2 separate regions of the Homo sapiens genome follow, and region 1 is linked to region 2. The links are contacts of gene promoters, found by promoter capture Hi-C in blood cells and fetal thymus (Javierre and others, 2016). All regions are on one chromosome and are shown on one strand. Each heading gives the region's core, a stretch centred on a gene start or on the middle of the fragment in contact. The rest is flanking DNA. Distances are from core to core; before and after follow the strand shown. Region 1 overlaps RHEBL1 (RHEB like 1). Region 2 holds the start of C1QL4 (complement C1q like 4).

What was found. Contacts are between HindIII fragments. The CHiCAGO score rates a contact against its expected background, and 5 or more counts as called.
Region 1: a contact is called between a fragment that was not itself captured here and the fragment with the promoter of C1QL4 in region 2, in 1 of 17 cell types (M2 macrophages). The highest score is 5.4, in M2 macrophages.

What each region holds. Positions count from the first base shown.
Region 1 is chr12:49,063,670-49,068,270 of GRCh38, reverse strand. RHEBL1 (RHEB like 1) reads left to right here. Exons shown (of 8, transcript NM_144593.3): 3 at 1,236-1,303; 4 at 1,570-1,652; 5 at 1,739-1,795; 6 at 1,993-2,040; 7 at 2,840-2,921; 8 at 3,079-3,595. The coding sequence ends at 3,168. Among named protein-coding and RNA genes, the nearest start is that of RHEBL1, 4.0 kb to the left of the region's middle. The HindIII fragment of the contact is 428 bases long and covers 1,741-2,168 here.
Region 2 is chr12:49,334,414-49,338,966 of GRCh38, reverse strand. C1QL4 (complement C1q like 4) reads left to right here and starts at 1,779. Exons shown (of 2, transcript NM_001008223.2): 1 at 1,779-3,026. The coding sequence starts at 2,490. RefSeq lists a silencer at 1,606-2,015 and an enhancer at 2,384-3,183. The HindIII fragment of the contact is 8,443 bases long and covers 1,058-4,553 here.

The DNA of each region.
Region 1 (4,601 bases), core at 705-3,204, 270 kb after region 2:
GTAATCCCATCTACTCGGGAGGCTGAGGCAGGAGAATTGCTTGAACCTGGGAGGCGGAGGTTGCAGTGAGCCGAGATCGTGCCACTGCGCTCTAGCCTGGGCAACAAGAGTGAAGCAATGTCTCAAGAAAAAAAAGAAAAAAAAAAAAGAATAAAAAGAATGTAAGGGGGAAGGGAGTGGGAGGGATGAAGATAAATTGATCAATGGGTACAAATATATAGTTTGATAGAAGAAATAAGACTTAGTAGATCAGTAGGGTGACTATAGCTTACAATAAGCTATTTTACATTTCAAAATAGCTAGAAGAGAAGAATTCAAATGGTTCTAGCATAAAGAAAAGCCAAATATTTAAGGTGATGAATATTCCAGATACACTTATTTGATCTTTACAAATTATATGAATGTATTAAATTGTCACATGTACCCTGAAACTTGGTACATCTATTATTCATCAATAAAACAAAAGTAATTACTTTATTTTTCTTTTCTTTTCAAGACAGTCTCGCTCTGTCACCCAGGCTGGAGTGCAGTGCCGCAATCTCAGCTCACTGCAACCTCCACCTCCTGGGTTCAAGCAATTCTCACGCTTCACCCTCCTGAGTAGCTGGGACTACAGGCATGCACCACCATGCCCAACTAATTTTTTGTATTTTTAGTAGAGACAGGGTTTCACCATGTTGGCCAGGCTGGTCTCAAACTCTTGGTCTTAAGTGATCCGCCTGCCCTGGCCTCCCAAAGTGCTGGGATTACAGGTGTGAGCCACTGCGCCCAACCAATAATCTACTTTAAAAAATGCTGCCAAAAAAAAAAAAAAAGGTAAGGAGACAGCCAGGTGCAGAGGTGCACACCTGTAGTTCCAGCTACTTGGGAGGCTGAGGTGACAGGATTGCTTGAGCCCAGGAGTTCCAGGCTATAGGGTGCTAAGAGTGCGCCTGTGAATAGCCACTGCTCTACAGCCTGGGCAACATAGCAAGACCTCATCTCAAAAAAAAAAAATGTAATTAGCCGGGCATGGTGGCAGGTCCCTGTAATCCCAGCTACTCGGGAGGCTGAGGCAGGAGAATAGCTTGAACCCGGGTGGCAGAGGTTGCAGTGAGCTGAGATCATGCCACTGCAGCCCAGCCTGGACAATAGAGTGAGACTCTTGTCTCAAAAAAAAAAAAAAAAAAAAGTCAGGGGACATACATCGCTGGTCCTATAAGGCACTTCACAGTCAAGTTTTCTTTTCTTTTCAGCTTACAGCAAGATAGTGACTCTTGGCAAAGATGAGTTTCACCTACATCTGGTGGACACAGCAGGGCAGGTACCAGTTGGGGTATGGTATCCAAATGTGGCAGTTCAGCCCTCGGAGATGAAGTCTGGTAGTCTTTGTGGCTCATCCGTAAAGTAGTATTAAAAGCATTTTACCTGCTAACAGTATGCAGGGCTCATTGGAGCTGTTCCATAAATACATGTTGAAGTGACTATAGTAGGGCGTGCCCCAGGGAGGGTCACCTGGATGTTGTCCCACCAACCTTTGCCATCTTAGTGGTTTGGATCTAGGTACTGATGTTTCCCATTTCTTGCCAGGATGAGTACAGCATTCTGCCCTATTCATTCATCATTGGGGTCCATGGTTATGTGCTTGTGTATTCTGTCACCTCTCTGCATAGGTAAGTGACCAAGGTTGTGAGTGCGGGACTTGGGAGAACCTGAGGACTGTCTCATAAAGTTATAGCTCCAATTCTTGTGTTTAAAGCTTCCAAGTCATTGAGAGTCTGTACCAAAAGCTACATGAAGGCCATGGGAAAACCCGGTAAGTGGCCCTGGGGGATAGGGACATAGTGTGGGCATGAGGGGGTGGGAGAGAGCAGAGGGGAGAATTGTCAAGTTAGAGAGGAGGCTCGGATATAGATCCTGCCTGGTCTGATAAGGAGTCGTCCAGCCTTGATGTAAGGAGTTGGGGAATGCGGGGAATGAGGGGATTCTGAAGTAACTGCTGTTTCCTCACAGGGTGCCAGTGGTTCTAGTGGGGAACAAGGCAGATCTCTCTCCAGAGAGGTATGTAAATCTCTGCTACTCAGAGCAAAAGGAAGTGAAATGGACTGGGAATCAGTCAGGCTCTCATCCTGGCTCTTCCACTGACTCAAACAAGTCATTTCACCTCTCTTTGTCTCTAACCTGAAGCTTAAGGAAGATAATACTTCTATCTTAAAAGCCACAATTTCATATTTCAAGCCTCAGTCCTAGATTCACCCATTGTTCCTTTGTTTACCTATATTTTCTCCTTCCACAGCCCTCCTCCCAAAACTTGGGGAAATGGCATGGGTCAGAGAAAGTCTTTTTCTTCTCTATTTTTTTTTTTTTTAGACGGAGTCTTGCTCTGTTGCCCAGGCTGGAGTGCAGTGGTGTGATCTCGGCTCACTGCAACCTCTGCCTCCCGGGTTCAAGCGAGTCTCCTGCCTCAGCTTCCCAAGTAGCTGGGACTACAGGCGCGTGCCACCACGCCCAGCTAATTTTTTGTATTTTTAGTAGAGACGGGGTTTCACCATGTTAGCCAGGATGGTCTCGATCTCCTGACCTTGTGATCCACCCGCCTAGGCCTCCCAAAGTATCGGGATTACAGGCACAAGCAACCGCGTGTGGCCCATTTTTTTTTTAATAGAGATGGTGTTTCCCTGTGTTGTCCAGGCTGGTCTTGAACTCCTGAGCTCAAGTGATCCACCACCTCGGCCTCCCAAAGTGCTGCATTACAGGCATGAGCCACTGTGCCTGGCCAGGAAGTCTTGATTCTGAAGATTTTTCAGAGCACTTACTGACATTTCTATCCTCCATCTTTATGTCCCAAATTTGCTTCCAGAGAGGTACAGGCAGTTGAAGGAAAGAAGCTGGCAGAGTCCTGGGGTGCGACATTTATGGAGTCATCTGCTCGAGAGAATCAGGTGCTGGGCCTGAAGACTAGAAGGGTGGTGATGGTAGCTGTGTTTTCCTTATTGTACTGCTTGGTGGTGGGAATGTTGCGGGAATGGGGCTTTCACCCCAGAGCTGGGTGGTATTGGCACTGAACTGACTTTTGCCCTGAATCCTCTCCTCTTATAGCTGACTCAAGGCATCTTCACCAAAGTCATCCAGGAGATTGCCCGTGTGGAGAATTCCTATGGGCAAGAGCGTCGCTGCCATCTCATGTGAGCCCTTGGGTGTGGGGTAACTGCCTTGCTTCTGCCCCCGGCACTTGCCATGTTCCAGTGGGGGGCAGATCCTCAGGACTTCACGGGTATGGTTGCCAGCTGTGTTCCTGGCCCCTGGACACACAGTGTGGCATCCTCATGTTTGCACACTTTCCCCAGGCTCCAGTGGCCTGGATGTCAATGTTTACAAAGGGGCAAGGACCTCTCATGGACACTGGCCTCTAGCCCTCTGTTTTTGTTTGATGAATTCTGTTATAACCTATGGGGTCAGGATATGAGTCCTGGGCATTATTTATCCAGGACCCATCCTCTTGGGTGGGTTTTGGGTGTTGGCTGGGTAAGGGGAGCCGGGGACTTCTGAAATAGAGCTGGCTCCCTGGGGTGACAATGTATATATGCAAATAAATTGAGAAATCTTTTGTTGTTGACTTCTTTTTCGTGTGTGTGTGTGAGACGGAGTTTCACTCTGTTGCCCAGGCTGGAGTGGTGCAGTGCTGCAATCTTGGCTCGCTGCAACCTCCGCCTCCCAGGTTCAAGCAGTTCTCCTGCCTCAGTCTTCTGCAGGCACCCGCCACCATGCCTAGCTAACTTTTTTATTTTTAGTAGAGATGAGGTTTCACCTAGGCCAGGATGGTCTCGAACTCCTGACCTTAAGTGATCCACCCACCTCAGCCTCCCAAAGTGCTGGGATTACAGGCGTGAGCCACTGCCCCCGGCCTTATTTTATTGTTGACTTCTATGTATCTAGTGAGAGCTCAGAGCCAAGATCTCTTTTTCCAAGGAGTGATGGCTGTGGTCTTTGGTGGGATATCTTTCCTCCTACCTTGTTCCTATTCCTTATTCCTCACTTATTAAGGACCATTATCCTAAGATTTACTACTTGCCTTTCCCACCTTTCTATTCTGCTGGGTTCCTCATATACTAAGTCCAGTTGGCTGCCACTCCCATCCAAGTTTTGTAGCCTTTCAAGATCCCCTTAATTACAGAAACACCACCCTCTAGTGGCCAACTGCAACATGCTGACCTAGCTGTCTTCCTGGGGCCTCGGCATTTGCTTGGATTCAAAGATGATGGGGTTTCAGGAGAAGAAAGGAAGCCCCTCATTCCTAATGATGTAAGAATTGAGAAGGAGTGTAGAGGCAGAGACTAAAGTGTTGTGAAGACTTTGACTTCCCAAGAGTGTTGAGTAAAGTAAGAAATAATGCCTCCGGTGCATATCAGTCCCCTGGCCCTCCATGTCCCCAGTGTCTTCCATTAAAATGGCCGTTCTTTGCTGTTTTCATACCTTTAATCTTTTTGTACTTTTTACACCTTTGGTGGTGTGCTACTTTTTTTTAGGTGTCAAAGGCTATTGGTTCTGCTTTTATGGGCCTACCGCCTCAATGAATTGATATTTCAGCTAGGAAAGTTTGGTCCTGTTTGCCTCTGCTTTTC
Region 2 (4,553 bases), core at 530-3,029:
GAGTACAGAAAACAAGAGAGGAGGAAATCACTCTCCATCCAATAATCATGCCCTGGTGTGCCCTGTGCCCTCCATCTTACACAATGTTCTCCCATACATGATAGTCCTGGCTTATCCTGGTCTCTAAGAGGCCTTTGCAGCTGCTCACCTCCAGGGTCTCCAAATGCCCCCACTTTTTACCAGTCCTAGAACCTGTTTTCCTAGCCTCTGGGGTCCCTGTGAGCAAGACATTTTCCCCAGAAGGCCCAGGCCCTAAGAGAGGATGCAGCCAGTAGCTTTTTCTCTGGACTCTGATCTAGCAATGCCTGTGTCTAGCAATGTCTTGGCCGCTCGGAAAGACAGATACAGTCCCCTCTTACAGGAGGGTGCCTAGCACCTAATCTGCATTTTACTTACATTAATTTGCATGGCCAACTTCAACCCCCACCCAAATACCCATTATGTGGGATCCAACTTCTCTGGGTTTCATCTAACAACAAACTCTTGAAGAAGGAGGAAGGGGCAGAGACTCCTGGGACTGGATAAGTCTGGGACCAGGGCAGGGGTGGCATTGGGCTGAGCTGGGCAGGGCAAATGAGAAGACAGCTGTCTTCTGACTTCCTCTCTGTCCAGTAGAGTCCTTCATTCTCAGTCCCAAGGTAGGAAAAATGGCATTTGTGGGCTCCAAATTGAGGGACTAGGAGGAAGACAAATACAAATACCTCCCTTCAAACAGCCCTCACATATACATACACAAAGACAACACACAATCCACAATCGCACTCACCCAGGGACACACAGGGCCAGGATCCCATGGCCACCTCCACACTTTGGAGCACACTGTCACAATGCACAGGCCCAGAGCCTAGCACTGCTGGCAGAGCCGCCCTGCCCCCGCATCTTCCCCACAGTTGATATGTCACATTGGAGTCCAAACACGGACCTGGGTGTCTCTCTGCAGCGCGCCATTTACATTTCTCTCTCGATCTGTCAACCTGTCCCGGCTCTGTCTCTCTTCCTCTGTCTCTGTCTCTCCCTCTCCCCCTCTGGGGCTGTCAGTCCGTCTCTTTTCGAAGCTTTGTCTCTGTCTCTGCATCTCTATCTAGCTTTCCTTCTCTTTGATTTCTGTCGCTCCTTCTCTGCTTTCTTGTCGGTTTCTTGCTTGCTCCCCCGGGCTGATCTGTTCTCTTATTTTCTCTCTCTCTCTCTCTCTCTCTCTCTCTCCACACAAACACACACACACACACACACACACACACACACACACACACTCCGCTCCGCGCCCCAATACTGAGGGGTGGGGGTAGGGTTGGCTAGAGATTTGCCTTTTCCAGTTCAGGCCAACTAGTATCAGTTGAATCCTTTACCATGTTATTCGGTCACGGGCGCTGAGGTGCGTGGGGTGGTGAATTTCTATCTTTTCTAGCCCTTCTTATTTTGTTTTCTGTTTGTTTGTGAGGTCCCTCCCCCTCATTTTAGCTCGGGAATCTACCCCTGTCTTCTCTGCGTGTTTGTATCTTGACCCCTCTTTATCCCATCGCTGTTTTGGGTTTCCTCTGGCCTCTGAGAATGCCAAACTCCGGGTAAAGGGTAAAAGTAAAGATACAGCGGGGGCCGCGAAACCCTGAAGAACCCGCTCAGAGCCGGGAAGGAACCTAGGGGCAGTGGGGGAGTGGAGGGGAGGCGGGGAGGACGTGGGTGGGGGCCGCTGCCTGCCCCGCCCCCGCACTTCCCACTCTGGGCACCAGGGGTCGCTCCGCCTCTGGCCGCTTATAGTGGCTCCCGCCGCGCGGCGCCTCATACCACCCGCGCCCGGGAGGGAGGGGAGGAAGGTTAGGGAGGCGGAGAGGGACCGCGCCCGCAGGAGAGAGGCGCGGGCCAGGGCTCTAGCAGGGACTGGGGCCGCGGCAGGGGTAGCAAGGTGAGTCGGTGCTTGCCAAGAGGCAGAGCGCAAAACCTACTAGGAGATCGCGCCCGGTGAGCAGCACCCGCAGCTCAGAGCCCGGGACGTCCGGAGCGCGGGGAGCAGTCCCCTCTCCATCAGGGAGTGGTCTATCTGGGCAGTCTGGGACCCAGGCACCGCGCCATCCCTGAGAGAGCAGCAGTCTGGAGAGCAGGCATCTCAGATCCCTAAGAAACCAGCCGTCCGAGAAGCCGCGGATCTCAGGTGCCCAGGATCGTTAGGACTGAACGGGAGGGTACTAGAGGACCACTGGCTCTGGACCGTCGGGAGCTGCCCCTGACGTAACCCACGAGGGGCCTCCCCTTGACGGACGGCTTGGGGAGCGGCACCGCCGCGGCTGGAGCCCGCAGAGGCAGGGTAAGGGGAGCGGGGGGCAGCCGTCGGGGGAGTGCAGACCCAGGCCCAAGGCGGGTCACCGCCTCCTGGCCCGCGGAGAGCCCCGGCCCCGGCAGCCATTGCGCCCAAGAGTGAGGAAGATTTGCTGGCCCTGGCAGCGTCGCGGCTGAGCCGCCGCAAGAGGGTGGCGGGCGCGGCCGTCGGAGTGGCCATGGTGCTGCTGCTGCTGGTGGCCATCCCGCTGCTGGTGCACAGCTCCCGCGGGCCAGCGCACTACGAGATGCTGGGTCGCTGCCGCATGGTGTGCGACCCGCATGGGCCCCGTGGCCCTGGTCCCGACGGCGCGCCTGCTTCCGTGCCCCCCTTCCCGCCAGGCGCCAAGGGAGAGGTGGGCCGGCGCGGGAAAGCAGGCCTGCGGGGGCCCCCTGGACCACCAGGTCCAAGAGGGCCCCCAGGAGAACCCGGCAGGCCAGGCCCCCCGGGCCCTCCCGGTCCAGGTCCGGGCGGGGTGGCGCCCGCTGCCGGCTACGTGCCTCGCATTGCTTTCTACGCGGGCCTGCGGCGGCCCCACGAGGGTTACGAGGTGCTGCGCTTCGACGACGTGGTGACCAACGTGGGCAACGCCTACGAGGCAGCCAGCGGCAAGTTTACTTGCCCCATGCCAGGCGTCTACTTCTTCGCTTACCACGTGCTCATGCGCGGCGGCGACGGCACCAGCATGTGGGCCGACCTCATGAAGAACGGACAGGTGAGATGCCCCTCTCCCCAACCCAGCTCAGACTGGTCGCTCTCTAGATCTCCCTGCACTCATCCCACAACCTGAGATTATTCCCCGAAACAGCGTCACTGAATCCAGGAACGCGAGGCTGCCAAGAACGATAGATGACTTCATTTACCCACAGAGGAAATTGGGGGCCAGAGAAGGAAAACCTTCTGCCTAGGGCCTCACGGAGTGTAGGAATGGTGTTAGAATTAGAACTCAGGACTTAAACCTGAGTGTCTCTGCAGCTGTGACCTCACATTGCAACTATGGGCAACACCAGATGTCTTTGGTGTCTCGCCCTGCCAACTCGCTTCTTTTCTCGTCCTGTCTTGGGCTATCCTTTCTTCTGCGGCAGCCCCCCTGGCCTTTGGGTCTCTCAGCCTTGCATTGGACCAGCTAACTGGAGTCTAGGCTCCTTCGAATTAGAATGGAATCCATGTCTCAGGCAATAGGAAGTCAGCAGCTGTTCTCATGTTGAGGGCATTCGGGTTGGATGTTTGAGGAAAAGGTATAAAAGGAAGAAAACATTTGCCTGCTCACTTCACCTGCCGATCAGCTGTTCTGTTGCTCACCCCAGGGCTGGGGGCCTAGAACGGCCTTGCCCTCAGCAGAGTCTGTGGCTTGGCAGCTCAAGGGCCAGCCAGGTGGCTGGAATGAATGGATTTGGGGGAGGAAAGAGGCAAGGGACAGGTAGAATAGCCTTGGGCCCTGGCCTGGTCTTGTAGGCCCCACACCCTCCCTAGCAATCTCTCAGTATCCAGGTTCCACAGTTCCCTGCCCTTGTGGGCAGTTGGAGTCACTGTTGCCTCTGTTTTCGGGGAATAGCCCCAAGGACTAAGCTCTAGCACCAAAATTTCACACATAGTGGGAACTAGAGGCCGCAGGTGTGGGGTAGGTGGGAGAAGGTGCCAGAGCTGCACAGGCTGCAGAGGGAGGTTGGGGCTGAGTGGTGACCTCTGGATGTCCAGCATGAAGGGGGTGGTGGCGACCCAGGAGCTTCAGGCCTGCAGGAGCCTGGTACCGCGGCAGCATCTACCTGCCCCGAGACCTGCTTTGGGATCTCATCCCAGCCGGGCTGCCCCAGGAACCCGGGGAAAGGGAGTGAGTGTGCGTCCTCATGGAGTGAAAGAATATGTATGTGTGTCAGGGAGTGTGTGTGAGTGCGGAGTGCGATGTGAGAGTAGAGCGGTGTCTATCTGTATATGACATCGAGTAGGTGTGCTTGGTCCATGCAGGGTATCTGGGAGGAGGTGGAGGGGGCCAGTGTGTAACTAATTCGTGCGGGTTTCAGAGGGGGAGGGGACTGCGCAGCTCCCACTCTGTATTCTTCAGTGCGGGCGCTGCGGCCCTGGGGACGGTAAATAGTGATTAGAATAATGATGAATAATTAATGAGTTAATAACCAGCCCCTGTGGGACTCTCTAGAAGAGGGGGGCTGAAGGCCCGAAGCGACCGCCATGAGCCCGGAGGGGAGGAAGTGCTCCCTGTTCTGGCAGAAGACGACCCCCCACG